Linked DNA regions of Homo sapiens: region 2 is linked to region 1. Evidence: promoter capture Hi-C in 16 types of primary human blood cells and fetal thymus (Javierre and others, 2016). All regions are on one chromosome and are shown on one strand. The core of a region is centred on a gene start or on the middle of the fragment in contact, and the rest is flanking DNA. Distances in the headings are between cores, read along the strand shown. Region 1 holds the start of VPS54 (VPS54 subunit of GARP complex). Region 2 holds the start of LOC105374769 (a long non-coding RNA gene).

Region 1 (4,195 bases), core at 242-2,741:
GAGGTTGCAGTGAGCCAAGATCATGCCACTGCACTCTGGCCTGGGCAACAGAGCCAGACACAGTCTCAACAAAACAAAACAAAGAAAGTACTCTTTTAGCTATTCTGGAATATTAAATACATTGTTATTAACTGTGGTCATCGTGCTGTGCAATAGATCACTAAAATTTATTCCTCCTACCTGAAACTTTATACCCTTTGACTCACATTTCCCCTTTCCTCATCACCCTTTACCCCCCAGTCTTTGGTAACCACCATTCTACTCTGCTTCTATGTAAACTCATCTGGTTTTATAAGTGATCAGGGATTTAAGAGGACTTCACTCTTTTACAGTTAAATTTATTTCATATTGGGGAATGATTTTCTCACTTTGTTTCTTACATAATTTTAGAGGATTGAACTTAGAAAAATATAATGTAAGAGTTTTCTCTCAACTATTTTTGATGCTTCCTTACTTTTTGTCCTCTTTCCCCAACTTTAGCTCTTTGGTGGGGAAAATATTATTTCATAAAAGTTATGTTTGCAGTTTTCAAAGTGACTTCTTAGAAGTGAAACTTGGATCAACATTTTTTTCAACCCCCCAACTATAAGAGTTACATTTTCACTTTTGATTTGTTAAAACATACTATGTCTTATAAATGCTTGAAATTTATTTTTAGGCAAGAATTTCAACATTGAATAAAATCTTCCCAAAATTAAGTCACAAGCACTCAAAGGATTGAGGATCTTTTTCTTCCTAAAATATATGTGTGTGTGTGTGTGTGTGTGTGTCTTTATATTTATATACTAAGACCTTCCCTTTCTTGTGGACTGTGTTTTATTGGTTTAAAGTTGCAAGTCCTGTGAAACCAGGCTGAAGTCAGAATTAGAAGGTATTAATTATCATACACACTCCAAGTATCTCAGTCAAGTAACAGGAATAACTGATTACAGTGTCTGGGAGGAAGGCCTGGAACTTGGGGAAGACTTGGAGGGGAGGACTGGATGGGGAAAAGGCCTCAATAGAGAGAACTGGGTTGTTGCGGAGGGGTGACCTTTAACCTTTGGAAGGGCATTTACTAGGGAACAGCTGAAAAGCATTTACTTCGAGGGGGTGGGGGAGAGGAGGAATCTCGTGGAAGTATTTGCTTTAATAGGTCCCGGGTGATTTAGGGATGTTTCGAGTCGGTTGGTCTTGGGGGTGGCGAGGGCTACGCTGGAGGGGTCGCGTCCCAGTCCCGGGGAAGGCGGCAGGAGGTTTTCTGGGTGTTCCTGAAAACTGGGAGTTGGGGGGAAGGGTGGTGGGGAAAGTGGAATTCAGCGTGGATTTGTCTGCGTGTAGGACTATTAGAGGAGGCGCAGGGGAGCCACGCGGTGTATTCCCCGCCCCGAGAGAACTCTGGCTGCGCCTGCGACGGGCACGCCGGCCTGCGCCAAGGCCGCTTTCCCCAGGCGGCGGGCGCTCCCCCCGGCCCGGGCCGCGGCCCTCCCGCCCCGGCGGAGCCGCGCGGTGGATTGTGGGCTGGGGGCTGCGGCGGCCTCCGGCGCTGTCTCCCCGCACCCGACCGGGCCGAGCCGGCTGGGCCGGCGGGGTGAGGGAAAGCAGTGGAGTCGGGAGCAGAAGCGCTAGAGGCAGTGGTCGTGGCGCGGCGGCGGCGGCTCCCCTGGAGGCCGGGGATGTGGGAGAGGCGGTGGCAGCAGCGGCGGAGGCGGCGCTGCGGACCCGGGGGAAACTGCTGGCTGACAGGACACCCGGGAGAGACGTGAGGGAGCCGCCGCTGCCACCTCTCACCCCTGAGTGAAGCTGGGCTCGAGAGGGCGGCCCTGTGCTCCCCGGGCCGACTGGCCAGCGGGCGCGGGGCGGGGGCGGGAACCCGGGCTCGGGCCCGGCCGGGCGCCGGGCGGCGGCGGCCGTGGAGCAGCAGCCTCGGTGCGACGTGGAGGGCTGGAGGCGGCGGCGATGCACTAGGCCTCGCTCAGGGCGGCTGCCCCGGGACCCGCAGGTAGGTGTGCCCCGCGGCCCCCCGCGCGTCTCAGCCCACTCTCACCCCGACCTACAGCGGAGAGAGGGACCGAGACCCCACCCCCTCGGCTCTCCTCCCCAGCCCCAAACGGACCGAGTTTCGGTCACAGCTGACCGGCACTGAAGCTTCCATGCTCCTCTCCGCCACTTCCTTTTTTTTTTTTTTTTTTCCTTTTCACTCTCCCTCCGGGATCGGGGCTGGCAGCTGTGTTCCCTGCCTCCTGTCAGCGACCGCAAACGCCGCTCTTGCCCCTCTCTTATCTTTCCGGGATCCCAGCTCTGGAACTTCCATCACCCCCTTAGACGCTGCCCCCAAACTTTCCTTTTCTTTTTCCAGCCAGGCCCTTAGTCCTATTGGATTCTACTGGAATCGTTAAAACATTTGTTTGTTTTTCTCTCCGGGGAAGGCTAACCCAAAGAGTTACTCAGTATTTTGCATTTTGGCAATGTAGCTTGAAATAATTTGTGCAATAATTTTCTTCAGTTCTGCCTCCTTCCATCTCTGCATAGACAGAAAGGGCAGGCCCTCTCTGCCGTTTCTGCTCTCCCGTCGTTGACTTGGGAACTTTGGCTTGCCAATTATAATTAGCCGTTTGGTCTGTTCATGTGTTGAGTTCAAGATGGTATTTTTAGCATTTTGACTGACAGGCGTTTCAAAAAAAAATTTTTTTCTTCTAACCAGCTTTATTTTTTGGTCTTTATTGAGGCTCTTTCGAAGAATTAAATTGTTTGGACTGTTTTTGTTTTTAATTGGCTGTATTTCTGATTTGTCAAATCAAGGGCGGTCTTAATACTAAACGCCTTTAAGTAATACCGTGATAAATTACTTGTAGTATACCGAGAAATATTACTGCGATAACCTAAACTGCAGATTTTGATGTACATTCACTTTTATAAATCCGAAGGGGAGTTCTAATTGGAAAAAGCACCTTCAGAGCCTAAATGATTTCTAAGCAGTTAAATGATGGAACAGAGGGAATGATGGGATTTGTTTGACTGTATTTGTAGTGTAGTCAGAATCGGATTTCCTAGAAATGGATGTTGATGGTTCGTAGTGCTCATCATTGCTTATGATAGGTTACCAGTAGCTGTAATTGATAGTTGTTTGGGACGACAGTAGATGTTTGCGATTTTATTGTAATTTGGCTATTTTTAAATTATGTTCTGATAACTTAAGAATTATTACACTACCAATCTAAGAGGCAGTCTGAGGATCACTTTTTTAAATAAATGAAAAATGTTTTAATGGGTTTTTAAAATAAAGAATGCATCACAACCAAATCGTAAAGACTGTTTTGTTGTTGATATTCGTATATTTTGTTCTTGTAGAAGTATTGTTACTACAGCATTTGGCTTTCTGAAGTGTTTTTGAAATTAGAATTTAATACTAAAAGTTTACTAGGAAAAGGTGATTACTTTTGCATATGCTTATATTTTCTGGAAAGTTAAAATTGATTTCTGGATAAGATAATTTTTTGTGTCAGAATTAAAGTCAATTCCTATATAGCCCATGAAACGGCAAATTTTGCAGAATTTCTTCATCACACTCTTTTTTTTTGTTTCTTTTCTTTTTTTTTTTTTGAGACGGGGTCTTGCTCTGTTGCCCAGGCTGGAGTGCAGTGGCGCTATCTTGGCTCACCGCAACCTCCGCCTACCGGCTTCAAGTGATTCTTCTGCCTCAGTCTCCTGAGTAGCTGGGACTACAGGCGCCCCCACGCCTGGCTGATTTTTGTATTTTTAGTAGAGACGGGGGTTTCACCATATTAGCCAGGCTGGTCTTGAACTCCTGACCTTGTGATCCACCGGCCTCGGCCTCCCAGAGTGCTGGGATTAGAGGTGTGAGCCACCGCCCCGGCCCCGGCCCATCACACTCTTTTTTTTTTTTTTTTTTTTTTTAATCAACAAAAGTTAATTACAATTCCTCTTTCCTGCTCTTTGCTTTTTAAAAACTGCTTTATTGAGATAAAATTAACATACCATAAAATACACCCATTTAAGGTGTACCACTTGGCCGGGTTCAGTGGCTCACACCTGTAATCCCACCACTTTGGGAAGCCTAGTCAGGTAGATCACCTGAGGTCCAGAGTTCGAGACCAGCCTAGCCAACATGGTGAAACCCCGTCTGTACTAAAAATATATAAATTAGCCGGGCATGGGGGTGAGCGCCTGTCATCCCAGCTACTGGGGAGGCTGA
Region 2 (4,279 bases), core at 433-2,932, 310 kb before region 1:
GAGTTTGGCTCTTTCTGTCAACAAGGAGTATTAGAGGGTACCTCTTGGAAGAGAACCTGGGTGCTGGGGGACAGGGGTGGGAAGGAGACCTATTTTTTACTATAAATCCTTTTGTTGGATTTCTACATGTATGTTCATTTCCTATAAAACGATAATTGTGTTTATTTTTAAAAGAAAAGCTCTTCAAGCAAATATGAGGGAAGAGAAGTACTTTCCCAAAGTGTGGTGGAAGGGAAGGGGGAGAGTTTGTGATGGGGTGGGGGTGATGGGCCTGAACTTCATCCAAGCCTCTGAGGACCCGAGGAGCAGAAACTTGTGGGGATGTGAGCTAGAAGGTGAAGCCCACCGGTTCCTAGGTGACCTCTCTCTGACTTCATGGGCCATGGAACAGGCTGTCTCCGTGGTAATCTCAACAATGCTCAAGGCAGTCAGTGCCTGGCAACTTTGGACTTAAGAGTATCCGGTAGGTGCAAAACATCAGCCAGGCACTTGGTGCCCAAAGCCTTTGATTACACCCCAGCTGGACATCTAGAGCCTGGACGTCAGCTTGGGGAAAACCACTTCTTATGCAGAAAGTAAAGCCCAGCAAAGGCCACCAGGTATTCCTAACAGGAATACACCTAACAGGGCCTTTCCTCCCCCTCTTCCCAGCCCCACCAACTCCTTCCCCACTCTTTGCCCTACAGGGAACCTCTGCACGGCCAAGCTAGGATATTGGGTTTCTGGACTCTTGCTAGAACTTCTCTGAGTCATTCATTTTCTTTTTATTTATATATACTGTGTTGCCTCAACTATATTGCACCATTTAGTCTCAGGTCTCTGGGAAAGAGAGGATCTCACAACAGAAACATTTTTCCAGAAAAACCCTGAGAGGGGGCTGGCCTCTTTGAGGGCTTAAATGTCTCTGCGACGTCACAGAGGCATGCCAATTTCTGTCTTAGTCCATTCGGACTGCTCTAACAAAAATAGCACAGACTGGGTGGCTTAAACAGCAGGCACTCTTTTCTCACAGTTCTAGAGGCTGGAAGTCCAAGATCAAAGTGCCAGCAACAGGCCTTGGGAGGGCCTGCCTCCTGGTTCATAGATGGCCATCGTCTCCCTATGTCTTCACACGGTGGAAGGGGCAAGGAAGGCTTCCCCACACACCTGCCCTTTACTCTGCGGAGCCCAGCTTCCTACTGCAGTAAACTCTCACATGGCCAAGAAGGTAAAGGTCTGCTCAGGGCATTCACCTCCTTTCAGTGGTTCTCCACATTCAGCCCAGATAGACTCAGCCAACAGGAAACCCATTAACCAAAAGCTTGTGTTCTGTTTGGCCTCTTACACATCAAAGGGAACATAACAGTGAAAATTATAATAAGCAACAATGATCATCATCATTTCCAAGAGACAACATCAGTGCCAGCAGTTCCAATGAGACCCTGGGGTGTCAGTCACTGTATCTGCAAACAGAAAATGCAACTCACCTGCCTCTCCAGGCATCAAGAGTGCTCATAACGCTTAGAAAACTGTAAATAGCTTATAACTGCCAGTTGCTGCTATTGTTCATAAGTGCTTTGGGGTCACAGCTCTCGAAATAATGAGAAGGTGTGCTCTCGGCAATGAAATTAAACAGGCATTTCAGGGCAACCTCAGCTCAGATCCCTGGAGAAAAAAAGAACCTACAGCTTACCTCCAGAGGGGCACTGAGGATCATGTTTCACCCTGAGAGGGGGCTGGCCATGGAAGGAAATGACCTGAGGTCGGGGTGGGCCTCCATTCTGCGGGAGAGGGCAGGGAAGATGCTTGGCTGCTCTCACAAAGGAGCTTCTAGGATCTGCCTCTTTTTTTTCCTCACCTCCTCCTAAGGGAAAAAGTTGTTTTCCTTCCTGCGCCTCAGGGCAGAGCAGAAGTTGAAATGGACTACTTGTTCCTAATATTATTTACAGTTCAGCAAAGGACTTGGGGTCTCCAGCCTCAGGTCTAGAAACTCCTTCCACAGCCACACCCTGAAAAGGACTAGGTTAGCAGCAAAGCTGGGGCTCCTGAGATAGTATGCGATCTTCTGGTGGCGCTTTAAGCTTGTGGTATAAACTGAGGTGGTCTCAGGTCTCTGGGAAAGAGAGGATCTCACAACAGAAACATTTTTCCAGAAAAGGGCGCAGCTTTAGAGTTGCCTTAATAACATGGGATCTAGCGCCACCTAGTGCCTGCTGCGGAGCTTGACATGGGTCTTGCTCTGATAAGGTGGTTTTGGTTTTTTTGGAAATTGGCTTTAACCAAGAGAGAGACCGAAATGGAGAAACACGTTTTCTGCACACAGGGCTGTCCTCATGCCCACGATGAGGGACTGAGAGTTTGGTGGAAGAAGCTGAAAAGCTACAATCTTAATGTGTCACGGACGGGGGTGTTGGGTGAGGGGATGGGGGAGTCTTTCTCTTGGAAGGAAGCTGGGGTGACTCACAAGTAATATTTAGAGTCTTAGTCCCAGAAGATTGGCTTGGATTTGTCTGCATGAATATTTTTGCTCACACTAGAAAAAAAATACTGGTGCTATTTTATGACTTCTATGCTTTTCAAACTAGTTTCTCAGAGCTCTCCCAGAGCCAGCATAGGGGCTGCTTACAAAAAGCCCTTGGAAGCTGCTTCACTGTGGAATCCACTCCCGCTCCTTGCTACTGCCTACAGGACAAGCAGCCCTCCTTTTTTGTCCTGCCACTGTCTGGCTGCCCTCTAACCCTCTACTAATTAAAGCCACCATTTGCTATTTGTTTAACGTGATTCATTTCAACCTCAGAACAGCCAAGGCAGTGGATATTGGTAATCTCAACTGATCTTTAGGGAGGTTACAGGACTTACTCAAGATCTTTCAGCTCATAAGCAGAAGTGGGATTTGAACCCAGAGTTATTGAGCTCCAAAAAATTTGTTCATTTCACTACAGTACTCCATCTGCACTGCTAGGGGTAGTGGCTATTGCAGAGGATGCTACAATGTCCAGGAGGTTCCAGGAGGTTCTTGAGGAGACAAAGAACCTCTGAACTAGAGGACTTCTAGCTTGGAGGACACTTCCTGCTCTGGGCCTGTCCCTGTGACTCCAAGGCCTGGCTCGATGCTTGGTGTAAACACCTCCCTCCTCACAGCATCTGCCCTCCCTCAACACAGACATTTCCTCAGCCTACACTTCTCCACCCTTGGAAACCACCCCAGAGGAATAATGAGAGCAAAGAGCAGGGCAGGGAGTTGGCAACTCTGTAGAATGCCAGGAGAATCGTGGATTTGTCTGACTTCTGGGCTTTGGCCTCATCTGGTGGAAAACTGTGAAAATTCCCTACTGGCTCCTCCCTTTCCTTCCCTCCAGGCCCCTCCACCATTCTCCACCAAATAGACACACCTCCAGAAGAAGGTTAAGTAAGGCTACTCTCTGGATGCCTCTGAAACAAAGTGGTTTGCTTAAATGTACAGATTCAGAAATAAAGTTTAAATGGGGCAGCAGGCTGCAGTGGGACCCACACCCTGACCTCCATAAATGGATAAATGTTCAGGCTGCTGGAAGACCATGGAGGTGGTTTGGGGGTATCCGAGGAGCACAGAATTAAGAGACTGGGACTTCAGTCCCCATTCTGTCACTCCTCAGCTCAGTAATTTTGGGCAAAGTCACTTAACTACTGTGAGCATCAGTTTCTTCACTCAGAGAATGAGGACAATGATTCTCTTACCTGTAAGCTAACAGATGAACAAGCGCTCGGTAAAGCCCTGTAAGGGTGTGAGGTACCATACAATGAAGGAACTATGGGCATGCAGGATTTAGCTGAGAGTGCCTTTACTCACTTCGTCCTTTCCCTACCTCTCCCTCTTCCCCAAAAGGAGTCTGTCTCCTATAAAAGGGGTCTTAATACAGACTCACACACACGCACACAGGGTCTTCAGTTCTTGTGGGCTTTTCATTTTTTTTTTCAGAGTTAAATCATCTTGGAAAACAGCTTTTCCAATAAAGACCCAGTGGCCAGGACTGCTGGATGCACTTTCTTTAAAGGTGGCGGGAAACGCAGAAGCAGGAAGGTCCAGGACGGCATCCATCCTGTGCAAGGAGAAGGTCCTAAAAGGCTATTTCCTCTGCTACCAACTAAGAAAGATGGACGTTTGTAGCTGGGCACGGAGGCTAATCATCCGTAATAGTCTGGCAGTGCTAATGCATTCAGGGGAGAGCAATTAATGCCTGTTGGGGAACATCAGGACAGAGCTTAGAGTCTTGCAGCCTCTGGCAAAACCAGTTTGAAAACCTCAGGCTCCATTTCTAGT

Evidence for each region. Contacts are between HindIII fragments. The CHiCAGO score rates a contact against its expected background, and 5 or more counts as called.
Region 2: a contact is called between a fragment that was not itself captured here and the fragment with the promoter of VPS54 in region 1, in 1 of 17 cell types (non-activated CD4 T cells). The highest score is 5.4, in non-activated CD4 T cells.

Annotation. Positions count from the first base shown.
Region 1 is chr2:64,016,724-64,020,918 of GRCh38, reverse strand. It overlaps VPS54 (VPS54 subunit of GARP complex), which reads left to right and starts at 1,491. Exons shown (of 23, transcript NM_016516.3): 1 at 1,491-1,981. RefSeq lists a silencer at 1,368-2,077 and an enhancer at 2,238-2,307. The HindIII fragment of the contact is 5,022 bases long and covers 1-2,129 here.
Region 2 is chr2:64,328,953-64,333,231 of GRCh38, reverse strand. It overlaps LOC105374769 (a long non-coding RNA gene), which reads left to right and starts at 453. Exons shown (of 3, transcript NR_187908.1): 1 at 453-599; 2 at 1,013-1,207; 3 at 2,565-2,751. The HindIII fragment of the contact is 760 bases long and covers 1,303-2,062 here.